Linked DNA regions of Homo sapiens: regions 1, 3, 4 and 5 are each linked to region 2. The links are contacts of gene promoters, found by promoter capture Hi-C in human tissues and cell types (Jung and others, 2019). All regions are on one chromosome and are shown on one strand. The core of a region is centred on a gene start or on the middle of the fragment in contact, and the rest is flanking DNA. Distances in the headings are between cores, read along the strand shown. Region 1 overlaps EPS15L1 (epidermal growth factor receptor pathway substrate 15 like 1). Region 2 holds the start of CIB3 (calcium and integrin binding family member 3). Region 3 overlaps EPS15L1 (epidermal growth factor receptor pathway substrate 15 like 1). Region 4 overlaps EPS15L1 (epidermal growth factor receptor pathway substrate 15 like 1). Region 5 holds the start of CYP4F11 (cytochrome P450 family 4 subfamily F member 11).

Region 1 (3,518 bases), core at 554-3,053, 220 kb before region 2:
ATTATTTTTTTCTGACTTAGAAAAAAATTTTGTTTTTCCGTTTATCCATTCATTCATCGATGGACATTTGAGTTGCTTCCACTCAATGATTTTTTAATGAACTTTTATTTTAGAATAGTTTTTAGATTTATGAAAAAATTGCAAAGATAGGCCAGGTGCGGTAGCTCATGCCTATAATCCCAGTACGTTGGGAGGCTGAGGTGGGAGGATCAGTTGAGCTCAGGAGTTCAAAACCAGCCCTGGCAACATAGTGAGAGACTTCATTTCTACAAAAAATATAAAAATTAGCCAGGCTTGGTGGTGCGCGCCTATAGTCCTGGCTACTCGGGAGACCGACGTGGGAGGATCACTTGAGCCCAGATGGTCAAGGCTGGAGTAACCCATGAGTGTGCAACTGCACTCCAACCTGGACAACAGAGTGAGACCCTGTTTCAGAAAAAGAAAAACTGCAAAGATAGTGCATAGTTCCTCTATATCCCACACCCAGTTCCTCCTGTTAGTCACATCATATATAGTACATTTGTCACAACTAATGAACCAGTATTAAACATTATTATTCACTCAAGTTCATACTTCTTCAATGATCTTTAATTAATTTTTTTTTTTAAAGATACAGGGTCTTGCACTGTTGTGGCTGGAGTGCAGTGGCACAATCATAGCTCACTGTAACCTCCACCTCCTGGGTTCAGGCAATCTCCTGAGTCAACCTCCCAAGTAGCTGGGATTATAGGTACACGCCACCACACCTTGATTTTTTTTTTTTTTTTTTTGAGATAGACTCACTCTATCGCCCAGGCTGGAGCGCAATGGCGTAATCTCAGCTCACTGCAACCTCCACCTCCTGGGTTCAAGCAGTTCTCCTGCCTCAGCCTCCCAAGTAGCTGGGATTACAGGTGCCCGGCACAACACCCAGCTAATTTTTTGTATTTTTAGTAGAGACAGGTTTTCACCATGTTGGCCAGGCTGGTCTTGAACTCCTGACCTCAGGTGATCCACCTGCTTTGGCCTCCCAAAGTGCTGGGATTACAGGCGTGAGCCACCATGCCTGGCCTCATTTTTAAATTTTTGTTTTTATAGAGATGGGATTTTGCTATGTTGCCCAGGCCAGCCTCGAACTCCTGGCTAAATCATTCTTTTTAGGGTCATGCTACTCAAAGTGGAAATGTGAGTTAAGTATGGAATTCCGTACTTTGCTTTAACTCAGAAATAATAAAATCCCTGTCCTGTTTCTTCACAAAATTGTAGGATGATCCTTTCAAAAATAAAGCCTTGTTATTTAGCAACAACACGCAAGAGTTGCATCCGGATCCTTTCCAGACAGAAGACCCCTTCAAATCTGACCCATTTAAAGGAGCTGACCCCTTCAAAGGTATCTCACTTGCTACCCACTTTCTCATTGAAAGACTGTGTGTTTTATGTCGAATTTAGAGTGGTTCTTCAACTAGAAAAGTAAGGACATGCCACAATCTGAAATGGAGGGGGAAAGGAATGCCTTTTTTTTTTTTTTTTTTGGAGACGAACTCTCGCTCTCTTGCTGTCAGCCAGGCTGGAATGCAGTGGCGCAATCTCGGCTCACTGCAACCTCCGCCTCCTGGGTTCAAGCAATTCTCCTGCCTCAGCGCCCATCACCGCACCCGGCTAATTTTTGTATATTTAGTAGAGTTGGGGTTTCACTGTGTTGCCCAGTCTGGTCTCGAACTCTTGACCTCAGGTAATCCACCCGCCTCAGCCCCACAAAGTGCTGGGATTACAGGTGTGAGGCACCGCACCCAGCAGGAACGCCTTTTAAGCTTCTTATCTCACCCTGTTAACCAGAGAGCCAAGGCATCAAGATACAGTGGGAAGTGTTCCAAGCTCACCACAAGACCCACATTTGAAGGCAGCTTGGCCAGCCCCCTTGAACCCTTCAGTACTTCAGTTTCCTAATCCCTCAGCAGGTTAATAAATTTCCTCCTTGCTCACCTCACAGGGTTGATAAAATAATCAGAGCTAGTAATGATCATGAAAGTACCTGGAAAACCATGGATTCCTACATAAACCTAAGGTCTGGATAATTTTAGGAGTCTGTCCAGAGCCACACCTGAGTCAAGAATAACTAAGAATTCCAGAAACAAGATTTCCAAGTTTCTGTCCATGTTTCAGAGCAAAACAGTATTTCCAGGAGGAAGGCTCTCTACATTTTTGAGAAAAACACTGAGGTGGGGAGAGGGCAGCGGGAGCTTGAGCTTCAGCTTGGGTTTGAAGCCTGCCGGGTCTGAGAGGCGAATCTGGCAGCCCCTGAAGCCCAGGGGTGCCGCCGCCTCATTGCTGCAGGGCCGGTGATAAAGTGAGGGACAGCCCAGGGTCCTGTGTCCTCTTACCCAGGGAGCTGGCAGGCAGATGGGATAAAGGAAACCCAGCATGGGAAGAGAGGAGTGAATTCTAGCCCACTCTGTGTCTTCCCCAACTCCAGTCTGTGTGGGACAGCCAGCAGTACCTTCCTTCTCATCTTAAACATCCTAGCCAGAAACAGCTGCCTCCTCCAGGTCCCCCTCTTTGATTTGCCAAGGTTTTGAGGGCAGGTGGATAGTAGAGAAGGAACTAACATTCTCTCCCTACACTGGAGGAGTAGAAGGCAATGAAAGGCTTGGGAGGTGGGTGGCTGTGTCCAAGGGCCCGGCCCGCATCCTGTGCCCTAGAGCTAATAAGCATTTCTCTCCTCTTCCAACCAGGCGACCCGTTCCAGAATGACCCCTTTGCAGAACAGCAGACAACTTCAACAGGTAAAATTCAGTGTTTCCCGGACCGGTCTTTAGACTGTGTCCAGTCCTGGCTCAGAAGTCGCATGTGGTGGGACTTGTGTCCACATACACCGGGGATGGCAGCCATGTAACTGGGAAGGACGGCCGTCCATCCATGTTGTACCCATTCTCGGTCCCGTTCCCTTCTGGAGGTGGCTCCCCTCCCCAGGTCCAGTCACTGCCCGCACCCCACCCTGGAGTGTGGTGGGATCACATTGCTTGCTAATTTATTTATTTATTTTATTTATTTATTTATTTATTTATTTTTTATTTTTTTTTTTTTTGAGACGGAGTCTCGCTCTGTCGCCCAGGCTGGAGTGCAGTGGCGCGATCTCGGCTCACTGCAAGCTCCGCCTCCCGGGTTCACGCCATTCTCCTGCCTCAGCCTCCCAAGTAGCTGGGACTACAGGCGCCCGCTACCACGCCCGGCTAATTTTTTGTATTTTTAGTAGAGACGGGGTTTCACCGTGTTAGCCAGGCTCGTCTCACACTCTTGACCTCAGGTGATCTGCCCACCTTGGTCTCCCAAAGTGCTGGGATGACAGGCGTGAGCCACCATGCCCGACCGATTTATTTTTTTTCAGGTGAAATTTATGTAACATAAAAGTCACTGTTTTAAAGCATCCAATTCAGTGGTATTGAGCACACTCACAGTGTTGTGCAATGATCACCTTCATCTAGTTCCACAACATTCTCATCCCCCCAAAAGGAGACCCCATCCCAATCAGCAGTCACTCC
Region 2 (3,201 bases), core at 272-2,771:
GGCTCACACATGTAATTCCAGCACTTTGGGAGGCCGAGGCGGGTGGATCACCTGAGGTCAGGAGTTCGAGACCAGCCTGGCCAACATAGTGAAACTCTGTCTCTACTAAAAATACAAAACTTAGCCAGGCGTGGTGGTGGGCGCCTGTAATAATCCCAGCTACTCGGGAGGCTGAGGCAGGAGAATGGCCTGAACTCGGGAGGTGGAGCTTGCAGTGAGCCGAGATCACGCCACTGCACCCTAGACTGGGTGACAGAGCGAGACTCCGTCTCAAAAAAAAAAAATACAAAAAAAATTAGCTTGGCATGGTGGACACCTGTGGTCCCAGCTACCTGGGATGCTGAGGCAGGAGAATCACTTGAACCTGGGAGGCAGAGATTGCAGTGAACCGAGATCACACCACTGCACTCCAGCCTGGGCAACAGAGTGAGACTGTCTCAAAAAAATAAAATGTAATAAAATAATAATGTCAATGCACACCCCAGAACTTCATCTAGCTTGTTCACCATTATGTTCCCAATGCAGTGATGCAATCATGGCTCACTGCAGCCTCAAACTCCTGGGCTCAAGCAATCCTCCCACCTCAGCCTCCTGAGTAGCTGGGACCACAGGCATGCACCACCACATCCAGCTAATTTTTGTATTTTTAGTAGAGATAGGGCCTTGCCATGCTGCCCAAGCTGATCTTGAACTCCTGGCCTCAAGTGAATCTCATGCTTTGTCCTCCTAAAGTGCTGGGATTACAGGTATGAGCCACCTCGCCCAGCCAAAACCTTTTTTTTTTTTTTGGAGATGGAGTCTTACTCTGTCACCCAGTCTGGAGTGCAATGGCGGGATCTCGGCTCACTGCAACCTCCACCTCCTGGGTTCAAGCAATTCTCCTGCCTCAGTCTCTGGAGTAGCTGGGATTACAGGCATGTGTCACAATGCCAAGCTAATTTTTGTATTTTTAGTAGAGATGGGGTTTTGCCGTGTTGGCCAGGCTGGTCTTGAACTCCTGACCTCAGGTGATCCGCCTGCCTGGCCCTCCCAAAGTGCTGGGATTACAGGTGTGAGCCACCTTGCCCAGTCAAAACCTTTTTTTTTTTTTTTTAAATCTCAGATCCTGAGAATGACCCTATGAGGTAGGTATAATGTAATTTTCATCTCATGAATGAGGTTCAGAGAAGTCAGGTGACTTGCCCAGGGCCACACAGCTAGTGGGCAGAGAGCTGGGATTTGAGCTGCAGTGTGCCCATAGCCCTTCTGTATACCCTGCCTGTCTCTTGAGTGTGCCCCATAACCCCAGCCTCACCTTGTGGTGGCAGATGTGGCCTCCCCACTGAGGTCTTCTCTGTGACATCCCACAGCCCTTATCCTTACCCATGGACACATTCAGGCTGTTGTCCAGAGAGCCTGGCTGTAATTTGAGTCTCATCAAGCAGGGGGTGATGGCGTAGGTGGGTGGGTGACAGCCAGGGCAGGGAGATTTGCCCAGACACTGGTACACAACAGCCTGGCAACCCGTGTGGCCCCGAGGAAGCTGGGAGCCTTTGGGGTGCATCCCCAAGTCTGGGCTGTGGTTCACACCATGGGCAACAAGCAGACAGTCTTCACACACGAGCAGCTGGAAGCGTATCAGGTAGAGGGGGGCAGGATGGGTCCTCAGTGGGTTTGACAACTTTGGTTCCGTGGTCTGGGAAATGGGAACAGAATGCCTTCATCTGGGTGTACCGTCCGCCTGGGTTCCTGGTTCTGCTCTGTGTGTGGCAGCATCAGGCCATCTGTGTGAGTGTGGGGTGGAGGGAGGAGGCCGTGGGAGGAGGCCCCAGAGGCAGGGTTCGGGTTAAGACAACACCTCTCTCCACAGGACTGCACATTTTTCACAAGGAAGGAGATCATGAGGTCAGTCCAGGGAGGAAGGGAGAGAAGATCTGGAAAAACAACTTTCTATTCATTGCTGGAGGATATTTGCAATTTGGTGTGTGTGTGTGTGTGTGTGTGTGTGTGTGTGTGTGTGTGTGTAAGTAGTCTTTCTTTCTTTCTTTCTCTTTTCTCTCTCTCTCTCCCTCCCTCCCTCCCTTCCTTCCTTCCTTCCTTCTTTTCTTTTTTTTTGAGACAGGGTCTGTCTCTATTGCCTGGGCTGGAGTGCAGTGGTGCAATCATGGCTCATTGCAGGCTCGATCTCCCAAGGTCAGGTGATCCTCCCACCTCAGCCTCTCGAGTAGCTAGGACCACTGGTGCGAGCCACCACATGTACCTCATTTTTGTATTTTTTTATAGAGATGGGGCTCTCACTATGTTGCCCAGGCTGGTCTTAAACCCTTGGGCTCAAGCGATCCCCCTGCCTCAGCCTCCCAAAGTGCTGGGATTACAGGTGTGAGCCACCATGCCCAACTGGTATTTCCAATTTGTTGGGACTCAAATGGGGAAGGGGGGCAGGTGTGGTCAGTGGACAGAGGCAGAGATGGAGAAGCTGACAAGTCACATCTTGTCATACTGTCCCAGTCTCTAGGCTGATGAGCTTGGGCTTTCTCCCAAGGGTGGCAGGGAGCTATGGAGCATGCATGAGCAGGGGAGAGACCATCAGCACGTTAGAAAGATTCTCCTGAGGCTGGGCGCGGTGGCTCATGCCTGTAATCCCAGCACTTTGGGAGGACAAGGTGGGTGGATCACCTGAGGTCAGGAGTTTAAGATCAGCCTGGCCAACATGGTGAAACCCCATCTCTGCTAATAATACAAAAATCAGCTGGGCGAGGTGGTGGGTGCCTGTAATCCCAGCTACTCAAGAGGCTGAGGCAGGAGAATTGCTTGAACCTGGGAGGTGGAGGTTGCAGTGAGCCGAGATCACGCCACTGTGCTCCAGCCTGGGTGACAGAGCTAGACTCTGCCTCAGAAAAACAAAATGAAAGATAAAGATTCTCCTGAGACTGGGACTTGAGGCTGGGAGCCCAGGTGCAAAGTCCAGAGCCCAGTCTGGGTTGTGGGCTTGGCATTAAGATGAGGGTGTGAGGAGGTGGCCCAAGGCTGCTGCAGGTCCCTGGCGTGACCCAGCACGATGGGCACAGATGAGTATCCCACATCATCACTCGGCCTGTGGGGCCATTGCCCAGGGGCCCCGACCCATGAACTTGGAGCTATGAAACCCAAGCTGGCCAGGGTTCAGCTGCAGTGTGATCGGGGCCAAGGCCCCAGTTGTGTAGTAACAGGACATCCATTATT
Region 3 (3,456 bases), core at 73-2,572, 250 kb before region 2:
TAGAATTCCTTTATTGGCATCTTTACGTCCACCAGACTTGAGAAGGCTCACAAAATTTACACAGTACAATGCCACAAGTAAAAATCAGGTTGCTCTTGCCATCTGAACTCTCATCATTTGAATTAGATCCATAGATTTTTTTTTTTTAAATATATAAGAGACAGGATCTTGCTCTGCTGCCCTGGCTGGAGTGCAGTGGTGCAATCACGGCTCATTGCTATCTCAACCTCCTGGGCTCAAGTGATCCTTCCACCTCAGCCTCCCTAGTAGCTGGAATAGGTGGATGCCACCACACCTAGCTAATTTTATTTATTTATTTATTTTGTAGAGATGGGGTCTTGCTGTGTTATGCTGGCTGGTCTTGAACTCCTGGGCTTGAGGGATCCTCCTGCCTTGGCCTCCCAAAGTGCTGAGATTACAGGCATGAGCACTGTGCCTGGCCTAGCTCCATGGATTTTGATAAATTGTTTGATCAAGTCCTTGCTGTACTTCATCACACATACTTGCTACGTGAAACCCCTGAACTAAGCTGATCTGGGTCACATGGTATCCCTTGTTTCCCAAGCTTGCTTTCTGATTTCCCTGAGTTGGTATCAGGAGCCTGTTAGATTTGGACATCACAGGAGACTCGTTCATGAAGAGTAAACGAGTTTAACCATTGTTTCCCAGTCTTGACCATGAGTCCCTTCTCCTCAATCCTATGGACATCTTCGGGTTGTCAACACTGTGAGAACTCTTTGAGAAATCCCCCCCCCCTTTTTTTTTCCCCGAGACGGAGTCTTGCTCTGTCGCCCAGGCTGGAGTGCAGTGGCACAATCTCAGCTCCCTGCAACTTCTGCCTCCCAGGTTCAAGCAATTCTCCTGCCTCAGCCTCCTGAGTAGCTGGGATCACAGGTGCCTACCACCACACCTGGCTAATTTTTCGTGTTTTTAGTAGAGAGGGGGTTTCACCATGTTGGCCAATCTGGTCTCAAACTCCTGGCCTCAGGTGATCCACCCACCTCAGCCTCCCAAAGTGCTGGGATTATAGGTGTGAGCCACTGCACCCAGCCTAAGAAATCCTTTCATAACTGAGAGGAATGACTTTGAGTGGCAGTTTCAGGCATCATGGCGTTCATTGAAGGTGAGGAGTGGAGTGGCTTTTCTGTACAGTTGCTGCGTGGAGAAGGAACAATCGATCCCTCCAGCCACATTTGCCTGTCCTTTTTCTCTCCACTCCCTCATCATCTAGATAATTCAATCAGGTGTTTATTCTCATTGCTATTATGAGATTGTTTAAAAGGAGTGATTTGTGTAAATATTTAAAAAAAAAGGGAAGAGGAAAAGCACGTCTAGAGTTCAGGACACAGATGCCGTGAACTGTGGCGTGGTGGGTGTATTGAAGGCCCGCGGTAATGCAGGTGGAGTAGGCCACGGAAGGGGCCTGCCCCTGAGTGCCTGAGGGGCCTCAATGCCTCTGAACCAGGAGGTGACCGGGCCCTGGTTGACCCATGATGGCGTTTGCCTCTCTCAAGTTAACTGTGAGCTGGTGGCGAGAGGGGTCGCACGTGCAGCGGGTGACCCAGCCCCAGGGCTGTGAACTTTGAGCTGCACTGGGCTCGTGGCTCCATCTGCCCTGGTGGGGTTGGGGCTGCATGAATGTTGGTGGGGCCTCGTGGGTGGTGGCCCTCTTGGATGGTGGTGTCTCATTTGTTACCTGTCAGTGACGTGTGTGTACTCACACCTTGGGGGTATCTTTGTTGTCTCAGGAGTGGGGCAGGGACATAGAAGGGTGGTCTTCAGAGTCCTGGGACAGGACACTTTGGCTGCCTGTAGGGCAGCCTTTGCGGGCTGAGGAGTGGGAGGACCAGGGAGGCTGGCATGTGGCCGGGCCGGTTCTCCAGGGACGGTCCTTCCAAGTGGGTGCTCGGGAGGGTCTTTCCTGGCATGCTTGAACCCATCCCCTGAAGATCACAGCCTCCCTCACACCCTGGGTGGCAGGGTGGATGGACAAGGAGAGCGGGTGATGGGGTGGAGAGAGGTGCAGACTGGCATCTGGGTGAGCTTCACAGAGCCAGCCTCAACCTGTCTCAGCCTCAGTTTTGCCAGTTACAGAACAAGGATCACATCTGCCCTCTTGGCTCATGGAAGTGAGGAGAGTTTGATGCCAAATGTGCATGGAAGTGCTTTAATCGCCCCATCATCAAAAAGCATGTGTCTGGGGGTCATAAAAAGCTTCCAGATTAACTGTTTTGCCAAAAACTGTTTCAGCCAACAGTGAACTGGGTGGTGCCCGTGGCAGACAAGATGCGATTTGATGAGATATTCCTGAAGACCGACCTGGACCTGGATGGCTACGTGAGTGGCCAGGAGGTGAAGGAGATCTTCATGCACTCGGGCCTCACCCAGAACCTTCTAGCACACATATGGTAAGGCCGGACAGGTGGCAGTTGTGGCTGTGGGTGGCTCCAGGGGGCCTGTGGGTGAAGACTGTGGAGGGTGGTGGTCAGGGGGCCCCCTCCAGCCTGTCACAGGCTTCCGCTGTGTCTGGCGTCCTTTATTCTCCCTGGCCTGACAGAGGCTGAGCAAGGTGCACGTGCCAAGGCTCGAAGCCCGCGCTCCGTGACGGTCAGTTCACTGTCTTTCAGTAGGAAGGGCCTCTGGTCCGTCTTAAGTGCTCCCAGGCCATTTGCTTACACAGCTGGGCCCTATTCTTGCTGGCTGTGATGCTGGCTCTAACAGGAGGCCTGGACTTTGTCACAGCCGCCTCCGGGAGGTGCGGGCAGCAGGGCCTTGGAGCCTCTAGCAGAGTGGCCTGGCAGGGTGAGGGCGGGGGCAGGAGGCCCTGCTCTGGAAAGGCCAGTGCTTTGGCTCCTGGCGGGAGGGTGAGCACAAGGAGACCCTGTCAGTGCCTCAGAGCCCAGTCGAGGAGTCGGCCTCAACCCCTCTTTCCCCCAGGGCTGGACACAGCCGACTTCATAGGGCTGGGGCACTCCTCTTGCCACTGGCCAGGGCTGAAGTCACTTTTGAGCTTGTTGCTCAGAGCCTTGTGGCCTTAGAGAAGGCTTCACTTGGGAGCTATCAAAAGGAAAGAATTGCTGGATAATTCTCGAGAGGCAAATACCTCCAAGTAGAGCAGTGAAATTCAGGATGTTACTTAGTGGCTTGGGGGAAATGACTGTCCTTAGTGGTAATTCACAGATGACCACACTGTGAGGTGGGAGCCTGAGAACTAGCTGTCGCAGAGTCATCACCCAAATGGCCAAGCCGCCTCCAACTGGCTAGGGACAGTGGGTCTCAGCTGCCTCAGATCCAGTGTCCCTTTTAGAAACCAACAAAACACAGTGTCCCCTTTATGACTCTGAAACCAACACACATACAGTTCCTGGTTAGCGCCCTGACACCCTGACTGTCATGTCTAGGGGTCAGTAGAGGGAAAGTAATTTATAATGCATGCTGCAATTGACACATGATGTA
Region 4 (3,554 bases), core at 670-3,169, 200 kb before region 2:
GCTGGCCATGGCCTTCTCTCAGGAGGATGGGGACCCAGCCCGCAGTGCCCAGGTTGGCTTTCTTGTGGATGAGTCAGGAGAAAAAGTATGACCAAGTATGGGCTGTGTGGATTTAGAGCAGATTTTCTGTGAACTGTTGAGCAGATACAGATGCGTAAAGAGATCATTTCTGTAAGCCACACATCAAAGACATTTACCATCAGGAGGAAAAACAAAACAACAAAGGGACTCCCTTCCATCTGCAAGAGGCCACCTGTGCCTTACACAGAGGCAGTGGCTCTTCAGGGATCCTTGTTGGCTTCCTGATGGAACGGCAGTGGGCCTCTTCACTCTGCCTAAAAGATGGGAGCAGAAGCACACACACACACACACACACACACACATATATGCATAATCACAATGCATGCACACAGCTGGCACACATGCATGTGCACATTCCCACGTGCGGCCATGTATTTTTATGCATGTATGTGCACGTACACGTGTATGCTCTTGCATGCACATGTGTACCCTGTGTACACACATCCTCCACGCCTGCAGACACATGCATGCATGCACCTGTTTGCACATGAACACACATGCATACAGGTGAGCATGCATTCACATACATACTGCATCACATGAGTATTCTCGCATGTGCCTGCATGTACGCATATGCAGGCACACACGCACTCTCCCATGCACCCCTCCGTGCACACTCTCCATGCTTATATGCATCTGTGGACATGTGTGCATATTCTCTTGTCAGTACACACATGCATGCATAGAGATGAGCAGCATGCACTCACATACTGCATTGTGCATGCCTGCACACACACATGCTCTCATAGATAACAGCTGGGCATGCACACCCTCCATGCTTATATATGTGCATGCATTCATTGAGACATGCACATATTCACATGTGAACATATACATGAATACAGGTGAGCATTACACAGATATTGCATAATGCATGCATGCAAACGTGCACACACATATGCGTGCGTGTGTGCTCATACACACCCGGGCATGCACACTCTGTGCTTACATACGTGTACACACATTTACACACATGTGCACGTATTCTCATATGGGTGCACACACTTGCCGAGCAGTGCCGTATTTGCTGGGCCCTGAGGAGGAGCCATCCCACTCAACAGCTCACAGGTGCAAAGCTTCATTTTCAGTGTTTCATGGAAACCGCCACCCCCGCCTCCCCACGTACCTAAACCCGGCGCTGGGTCTGCTTTTGAACTTTCCCTCAGTTATCACCTCCCATCGTGTCTCCCTCTGCAAGCCTACCCACCCCACCTTGGCTTCTGCTGTTAGTGTACTGTGGGCTTCGAAAGCAGAAAAGAATGCTTGTTAAAAGTAGAACGTTTGATAACGGGAGTTTGGGTGACTTCCTTGGGCCTGGCTTCAGGGTTCAGGCTTTTTAGGGAGCTGTTGCACAATTTGAGACCCAGGGGGTCCTGGGCTCCTTTACTCGTGGCACAGGCCACTGCATCTTTGTTCTGCTGTGGTTGATGGTTGCTGTGCCACTCGGTGCTCTGCAGAAATATATTAACATTGATGGGCCCTTAGGAAGTGCTTGAACAGTTCTTATCTCACTAGGTCCCAGCAAGACCCGTGAGGGAGACAGGCCAGGCCATGCCCATTTCCTGGAAGAGGAAAGGCGGGGAGGGAGGTCATGGGGGCTCCCCAAGGTCACACAGCAAGGTGGCAGCAGGGCCAGGTCTACACCCAGTGACCTGCCTCCTGCCCCAAGACAGGAGTAACGAGAACCAAGCCATGAGCTTCAGAACATTCTCTAAAACAGCCAATGCACGCGCAGCATTTTAAGTCCGGAGCAACTGCAGATCTGTGTGGAGGCCTAAATATTTCTCATTTGATTCTTTTACCCAGAAGCAATGGCTGAACAGAAAAATTCTGCATTGTACTCGCTGCTGGGTGGTAGGTACAGACCGTGTGGTGGTTGCCGTTTGAGCTTGCAGCATTATTTGTGCTGTGATTCCGTACTAACCTCTAACAGTCCAAACACTGAGTTGACCCAGTGGTTGACCTTTGGTGAGTCACATGTTGGGGAGAAGTGTTTGGCTCTTTGGGGAATTGCAAAGGAAGATGCTTGCCCTACCCTTGCTCTCTGGTCAAGGGAATCAGAGCCGGGCTCTGTACAATTCCCTTCCCGGTTCCTGGCCACACGGCACAGACCCACGTGCAGCCCAGGAGGCCTCTGGTTATGGGCAAGAGCGGTCAGCAGATGAGTGTCGGGTGAAGTCGTGCTCAGAAAGTTCGCCAGGAAGACACAAGGCAGATCTCTTGTTTTCTTGGCTTCTTTAAGACAGAAGATAGTGAAGCTAATCTGTGAATTTTTTTTTTTTTTTTTAAGCATAAAGTCCAACGTTTTCAAACTGCTGGACTTTATGTTTTCTTAAAACAAACAAACAAACCAAAAAAAGCCTTTCTGCCTTTCTTGCTACCCCAGGCTTTTTCTGCTCAGGGAGACCACACGGCCAGCACACAGTGACGGCCGCCTTCCCCTGGCCACCCCAGGGCTTCCCAGATGCTGGGGCTTTGCGCGAGATGCGTGGGTCCCAGCGTGGCTGAGTGAGGAGGAAGGTGAAATGCGACCCCCTGTGAGCCTGGCGGTCGAGCCTTGAGCTGGTGGAGATAGACAGACTGACAAAAAGTCTGAAGGACCCATAGGCTGTCCAGTGGGCAGTCTTAAACATGCACACAGCGTTGACACCTGCACTCATGGAAATCACAATGAAGGAACAAGCTTTTCTGTCATCTCTCCGCCTGGCACATGGAACATGTCTGATGTCCCATGCTCCCATCCAGGGTTTGTCCATCCCAGGGCACCCAGAGGTTTCTAGAACCCTGCTAGGCCTCTGTGCCAGGAAATGGCTGATGTGTGAGGCCAGGACAGGAGAACTGAGGCCGCTTCCTTCTGTCCTCTGGGCAGCCAATTCTGCTAGAATCCAGGGGACTGCTTGATCAGGCTGGTTTCTGGACATTGGAGGAAAGGGAGGCCCCGGGTGGGTCACTTAACCTCCCTGAGCCTCAGTTTTCCTGCCTGACCATGGGACCCACTCAGGCCTAGCAGGTGGGTGTGTGGGTGAAGCGCCTTGCACGGTGACGTGCTGTATGTGGTCTGTAGCCCCCATCCCCACCCTGCGGCACAGGGACCGGGACGCAGGCTTCTGCCATATGGGCACCTTTTCCAGGAAAGACAGGCTGGGCAGCTGAGGTGGCTGCACACATTCTGGGAGTCATTAATTGGGCCCTTTTCTCCCTGTGAGGTCACAGTTTAGTGGAAATCTTTTCCGTTAAAAAAAGCGTGCAGGGAGTTGAACTTCAAAGAGGGCTCCAGCGTCCTCTGTGGGTCATCGCTCATACAGGACCAAATGTGAGTTTGGGTCTGAGTCACGTGTGGCTTTGGTGCCATCTCTTGTGTTCTAGAGGCTGCAGTTTTCAAATTCCGTGGGAGCTGCTTGTCTTATTTTGTTTAAAGGTCAATTGAGGTGAAATTGACATTTGGTGTGGCTGGCATGCAGTGTGGGTGCACG
Region 5 (3,513 bases), core at 951-3,450, 240 kb after region 2:
TGTTAAATGGATGCATTCCCTTCTCTGGATGCCATCACTCAGGTCTCTCCAACAATCCCAGGGCTCTGGCTCAGAGAACCGAGGGGAGGTTGGTGTGAAGGCTTTGGGCATGGTGACGCGGGTGAGCATCTGACATGAGCAGGTGCACTTGACCTAGAGTAGGTGGAACACAGTAGGCATGCTTTACCTAGAGCCCCTGCCACATAGTAGGAGTGCTTTGTGGAGAGTGCCTTGCACACAGTAGGCATTCTTTATGTCAAGAACTTTACATAGAGTAGTTTTACTTTATGTGGAGCACTTGACACACAGAAAAAACACTTTATATAGAGCATCTGGCACACAGTAGGTGTGCATTATGTAGAGTACCGGCCACACAGAGTCAGAGTTTATGAAGAGTACCCAGCATCCAGAGTAGGCACGCTTTATGTAGAGCACTTGACACACAGAAAGAACACTTTATGTAGAGCATCTGGCATACAGTAGGTGTGCTTTATGTAGAGTACCGGACACATGGAGTCACAGTTTATGAAGAGTACCCAGCACCCAGAGTAGGCACGCTTTATGTAGAGCACTTGACACACAGTAGGTGCACTTGACATAGATCACCAGGCACGTAGTAAACATGCTCTACATAGAACATCTGACACACAGTAGGTGTGTTTTATATAGAGCAGCAGGTGCAGAGTAGGTACACTTTACATAAGTTACTCCGCACAAATTTCACTTTATATAGAGGACCGAGAACAAAGAAGCAAGATTTTCTGTAGAGCGCCCAGCACACAGTGGACACACTTTTCATAGAGCACTTGGCACACAGTACACAACATGTATACAGAGTACCTGGCACATGGTAGGTGTGCTTTATTTAGAGTCCAGTACACAGTAAAAGAACTTTGCATATTGTCTTTTGCAAAGAGCAGAGACTGACACACAGCAGCTAAAGTGCTAGCTGCCAGCCCCTTCCCTTCACTCCCTCCTCAGAATCTTTCATCTGTCCCCATCTAAGGCCCATTTTCCTGTGATCCCTCCTCTGTCCCCCTCTAAGGCCTTATCTGACATCCCATTTCCCAGATGGGAAGCCTGAGTCCAGGAGGGGCTCACTACCCACAGTTAGGGCAAGGGGAGGGCAGAATAAGGACTCCACTCAGGGTCCCCCATCTCTGCCCTCCTGTCCCTGGCCCCATCCACTCATGGCCCCTCTCAGCCTTACCTCCCATCTCCCCTCTCTGTCCTCCTATGCTGAACCTAGCCTCCAGGTATTCTCCTCCAGCGGGGCTCTTTATCTCTAAAATCTGACCGGGTAATCCCCAGCACAGTTAGATAGTTTGTTCCTACTCCTGTCAGTCATGTCTCGACCCAGGCCCTGGGTTGCCTGGAGGCAGGACTTGAACTCCTGCCAGACTGTGAAGCCAGAGGCCAGGAGCTTCTGTCTCTGAATCTCCTAAGTCTGCACTGAGAAATGGTGCATGATGAACTCCTGGACCACATGTGGAGAGGAGCTCAGAACATGATCTGGCACAATGGTTGGCCTGGCCCCACTCTCTTGCCACCTGAACTCTCAAGTTCATGACTTTATCTGCCACACTCTTGCCTTGGAAGGGCAAGGTGGCTGTAAACTTTGGGGCTCAGAGTCACCTTTGACTCTTCCTCAAGATCCCCTCCCACTCAGGTGTGAGATGTTGAGACCTGCGGATCCTGTGCCCATGCTGTGTCACCCTGAGCTGGCTCCTCTGCACCCAGCTGGCCCTACGCCAGGTTTTGGTTGGTTGCCCAGGCTTGGAAGACACACCCAGTCCATGGGGATTGGCTCGACCAGCCCAGCCCAGCCTCGCCTCCCACAGCCTTCCGGAAATCAGGGGCCAGAGGCAAAGACCTCCTAGCAGAGGGGGAGAGGAGGGTATGTGGGACAAGCTGCTTCTGATAGGAGCCAGGCTGGCAGTGGCAGGGCTGGAGGGTCCTGGCCTGGGATGGGGAGGGGACTGCCCAAGGTTGGGGTGGGTCAAGGCTGCTGGCCTGGGAGACTGGTGATTTCCTGGTAACTGGACCCCTGGCAACCTCCCAGTGATTCAGGCTGGGCCTTTTTGGATTCTAATCAGCCTCTCTCTCTCTTTCCCTTTCTGTGTAACTGGAGGCCACTTGGCTGCTGGTTTTCATTGGGCATTTCTGGACTTTAGATCTCAGCTCTTGTTTACCCATCTCAGAGCCTTCCCTGATCTGCCTCCAGCACTGCCCATCCTTGCCCCTTTCCACTGTCCTTGGAGCTTCCTGGGCCCTTCCCTGGGCCTCAGGATCCCACCCTCCATCCCGTCTGCCCTGCAGGATGCCGCAGCTGAGCCTGTCCTGGCTGGGCCTCGGGCCCGTGGCAGCATCCCCGTGGCTGCTTCTGCTGCTGGTTGGAGGCTCCTGGCTCCTGGCCCGCGTCCTGGCCTGGACCTACACCTTCTATGACAACTGCCGCCGCCTCCAGTGTTTTCCTCAACCCCCGAAACAGAACTGGTTTTGGGGACACCAGGGCCTGGTGAGTTTGTCAGCAGGACGGGTCTGGGGTCTCAGGATGCATGGAGTTCCTGAGGGGCAGGAATGGGGCTCAGGGAGCTGGGTTTTGAGGGTGGCTGGGGTGTGGGAACACAGAGAAGAGAGGGAGGCAGCTCACTCATTCCTCTGCCCACTCACTCATTCCTCTCCCCGCTCACTCATTCCTCTGCCCACTCACTCATTCCTCTGCCCACTCACTCATTCCTCTCCCCGCTCACTCATTCCTCTCCCCGCTCACTCATTCCTCTCCCCGCTCACTCATTCCTCTCCCCGCTCACTCATTCCTCTGCCCACTCACTCATTCCTCTTCTCGCTCACTCATTCCTCTGCTCACTCACTCATTCCTCTCCTCACTCACTCATTCTTCTCCTCACTCACTCATTCTTCTCCTCACTCACTCATTCCTCTGCTCACTCACTCATTCCTCTCCTCACTCACTCATTCTTCTCCTCACTCACTCATTCCTCTCCTCACTCACTCATTCTTCTCCTCACTCACTCATTCTTCTCCTCACTCACTCATTCCTCTCCTCACTCACTCATTCTTCTCCTCACTCACTCATTCCTCTCCTCACTCACTCATTCTTCTCCTCACTCACTCATTCTTCTCCTCACTCACTCATTCCTCTCCTCACTCACTCATTCTTCTCCTCACTCACTCATTCCTCTCCTCACTCACTCATTCTTCTCCTCACTCACTCATTCCTCTCCTCACTCACTCATTCTTCTCCTCACTCACTCATTCCTCTCCTCACTCACTCATTCTTCTCCTCACTCACTCATTCCTCTCCTCACTCACTCATTCCTCTCCTCACTCACTCATTCCTCTCCTCACTCACTCATTCTTCTCCTCACTCACTCATTCTTCTCCTCACTCACTCATTCCTCTCCTCACTCACTCATTCCTCTCCTCACTCACTCATTCCTCTCCTCGCTCACTCATTCCTCTCCCCGCTCACTCATTCCTCTCCTCACTCAC

Evidence for each region. The method cuts DNA at HindIII sites, captures the fragments that hold promoters and counts their contacts. A contact is called where the count stands out against the background at its distance.
Region 1: a fragment that was not itself captured here is called in contact with the fragment with the promoter of CIB3 in region 2 in 1 of the 25 tissues and cell types used here (spleen).
Region 3: a fragment that was not itself captured here is called in contact with the fragment with the promoter of CIB3 in region 2 in 1 of the 25 tissues and cell types used here (spleen).
Region 4: a contact is called between a fragment that was not itself captured here and the fragment with the promoter of CIB3 in region 2, in 2 of the 25 tissues and cell types used here (lymphoblastoid cells and spleen).
Region 5: a contact is called between the fragment with the promoter of CYP4F11 here and the fragment with the promoter of CIB3 in region 2, in 1 of the 25 tissues and cell types used here (adrenal gland).

The regions. Positions count from the first base shown.
Region 1 is chr19:16,393,195-16,396,712 of GRCh38, reverse strand. It overlaps EPS15L1 (epidermal growth factor receptor pathway substrate 15 like 1), which reads left to right. Exons shown (of 24, transcript NM_001258374.3): 17 at 1,246-1,369; 18 at 2,712-2,762. Among named protein-coding and RNA genes, the nearest start is that of KLF2, 70 kb to the right of the region's middle. The HindIII fragment of the contact is 3,745 bases long and covers 1-3,518 here.
Region 2 is chr19:16,171,845-16,175,045 of GRCh38, reverse strand. It overlaps CIB3 (calcium and integrin binding family member 3), which reads left to right and starts at 1,521. Exons shown (of 6, transcript NM_054113.4): 1 at 1,521-1,621; 2 at 1,850-1,884. The coding sequence starts at 1,571. The HindIII fragment of the contact is 31,728 bases long and covers 1-3,201 here.
Region 3 is chr19:16,420,271-16,423,726 of GRCh38, reverse strand. EPS15L1 (epidermal growth factor receptor pathway substrate 15 like 1) reads left to right here. Exons shown (of 24, transcript NM_001258374.3): 10 at 2,251-2,408. Among named protein-coding and RNA genes, the nearest start is that of EPS15L1, 50 kb to the left of the region's middle. RefSeq lists enhancers at 2,214-2,817, 2,818-3,421. The HindIII fragment of the contact is 3,343 bases long and covers 1-2,993 here.
Region 4 is chr19:16,372,296-16,375,849 of GRCh38, reverse strand. The region is part of intron 22 of EPS15L1 (epidermal growth factor receptor pathway substrate 15 like 1); the gene reads left to right. Among named protein-coding and RNA genes, the nearest start is that of KLF2, 49 kb to the right of the region's middle. RefSeq lists an enhancer at 1-106. The HindIII fragment of the contact is 3,944 bases long and covers 1-3,554 here.
Region 5 is chr19:15,933,216-15,936,728 of GRCh38, reverse strand. It overlaps CYP4F11 (cytochrome P450 family 4 subfamily F member 11), which reads left to right and starts at 2,200. Exons shown (of 12, transcript NM_021187.4): 1 at 2,200-2,518. The coding sequence starts at 2,321. The HindIII fragment of the contact is 18,991 bases long and covers 1-3,513 here.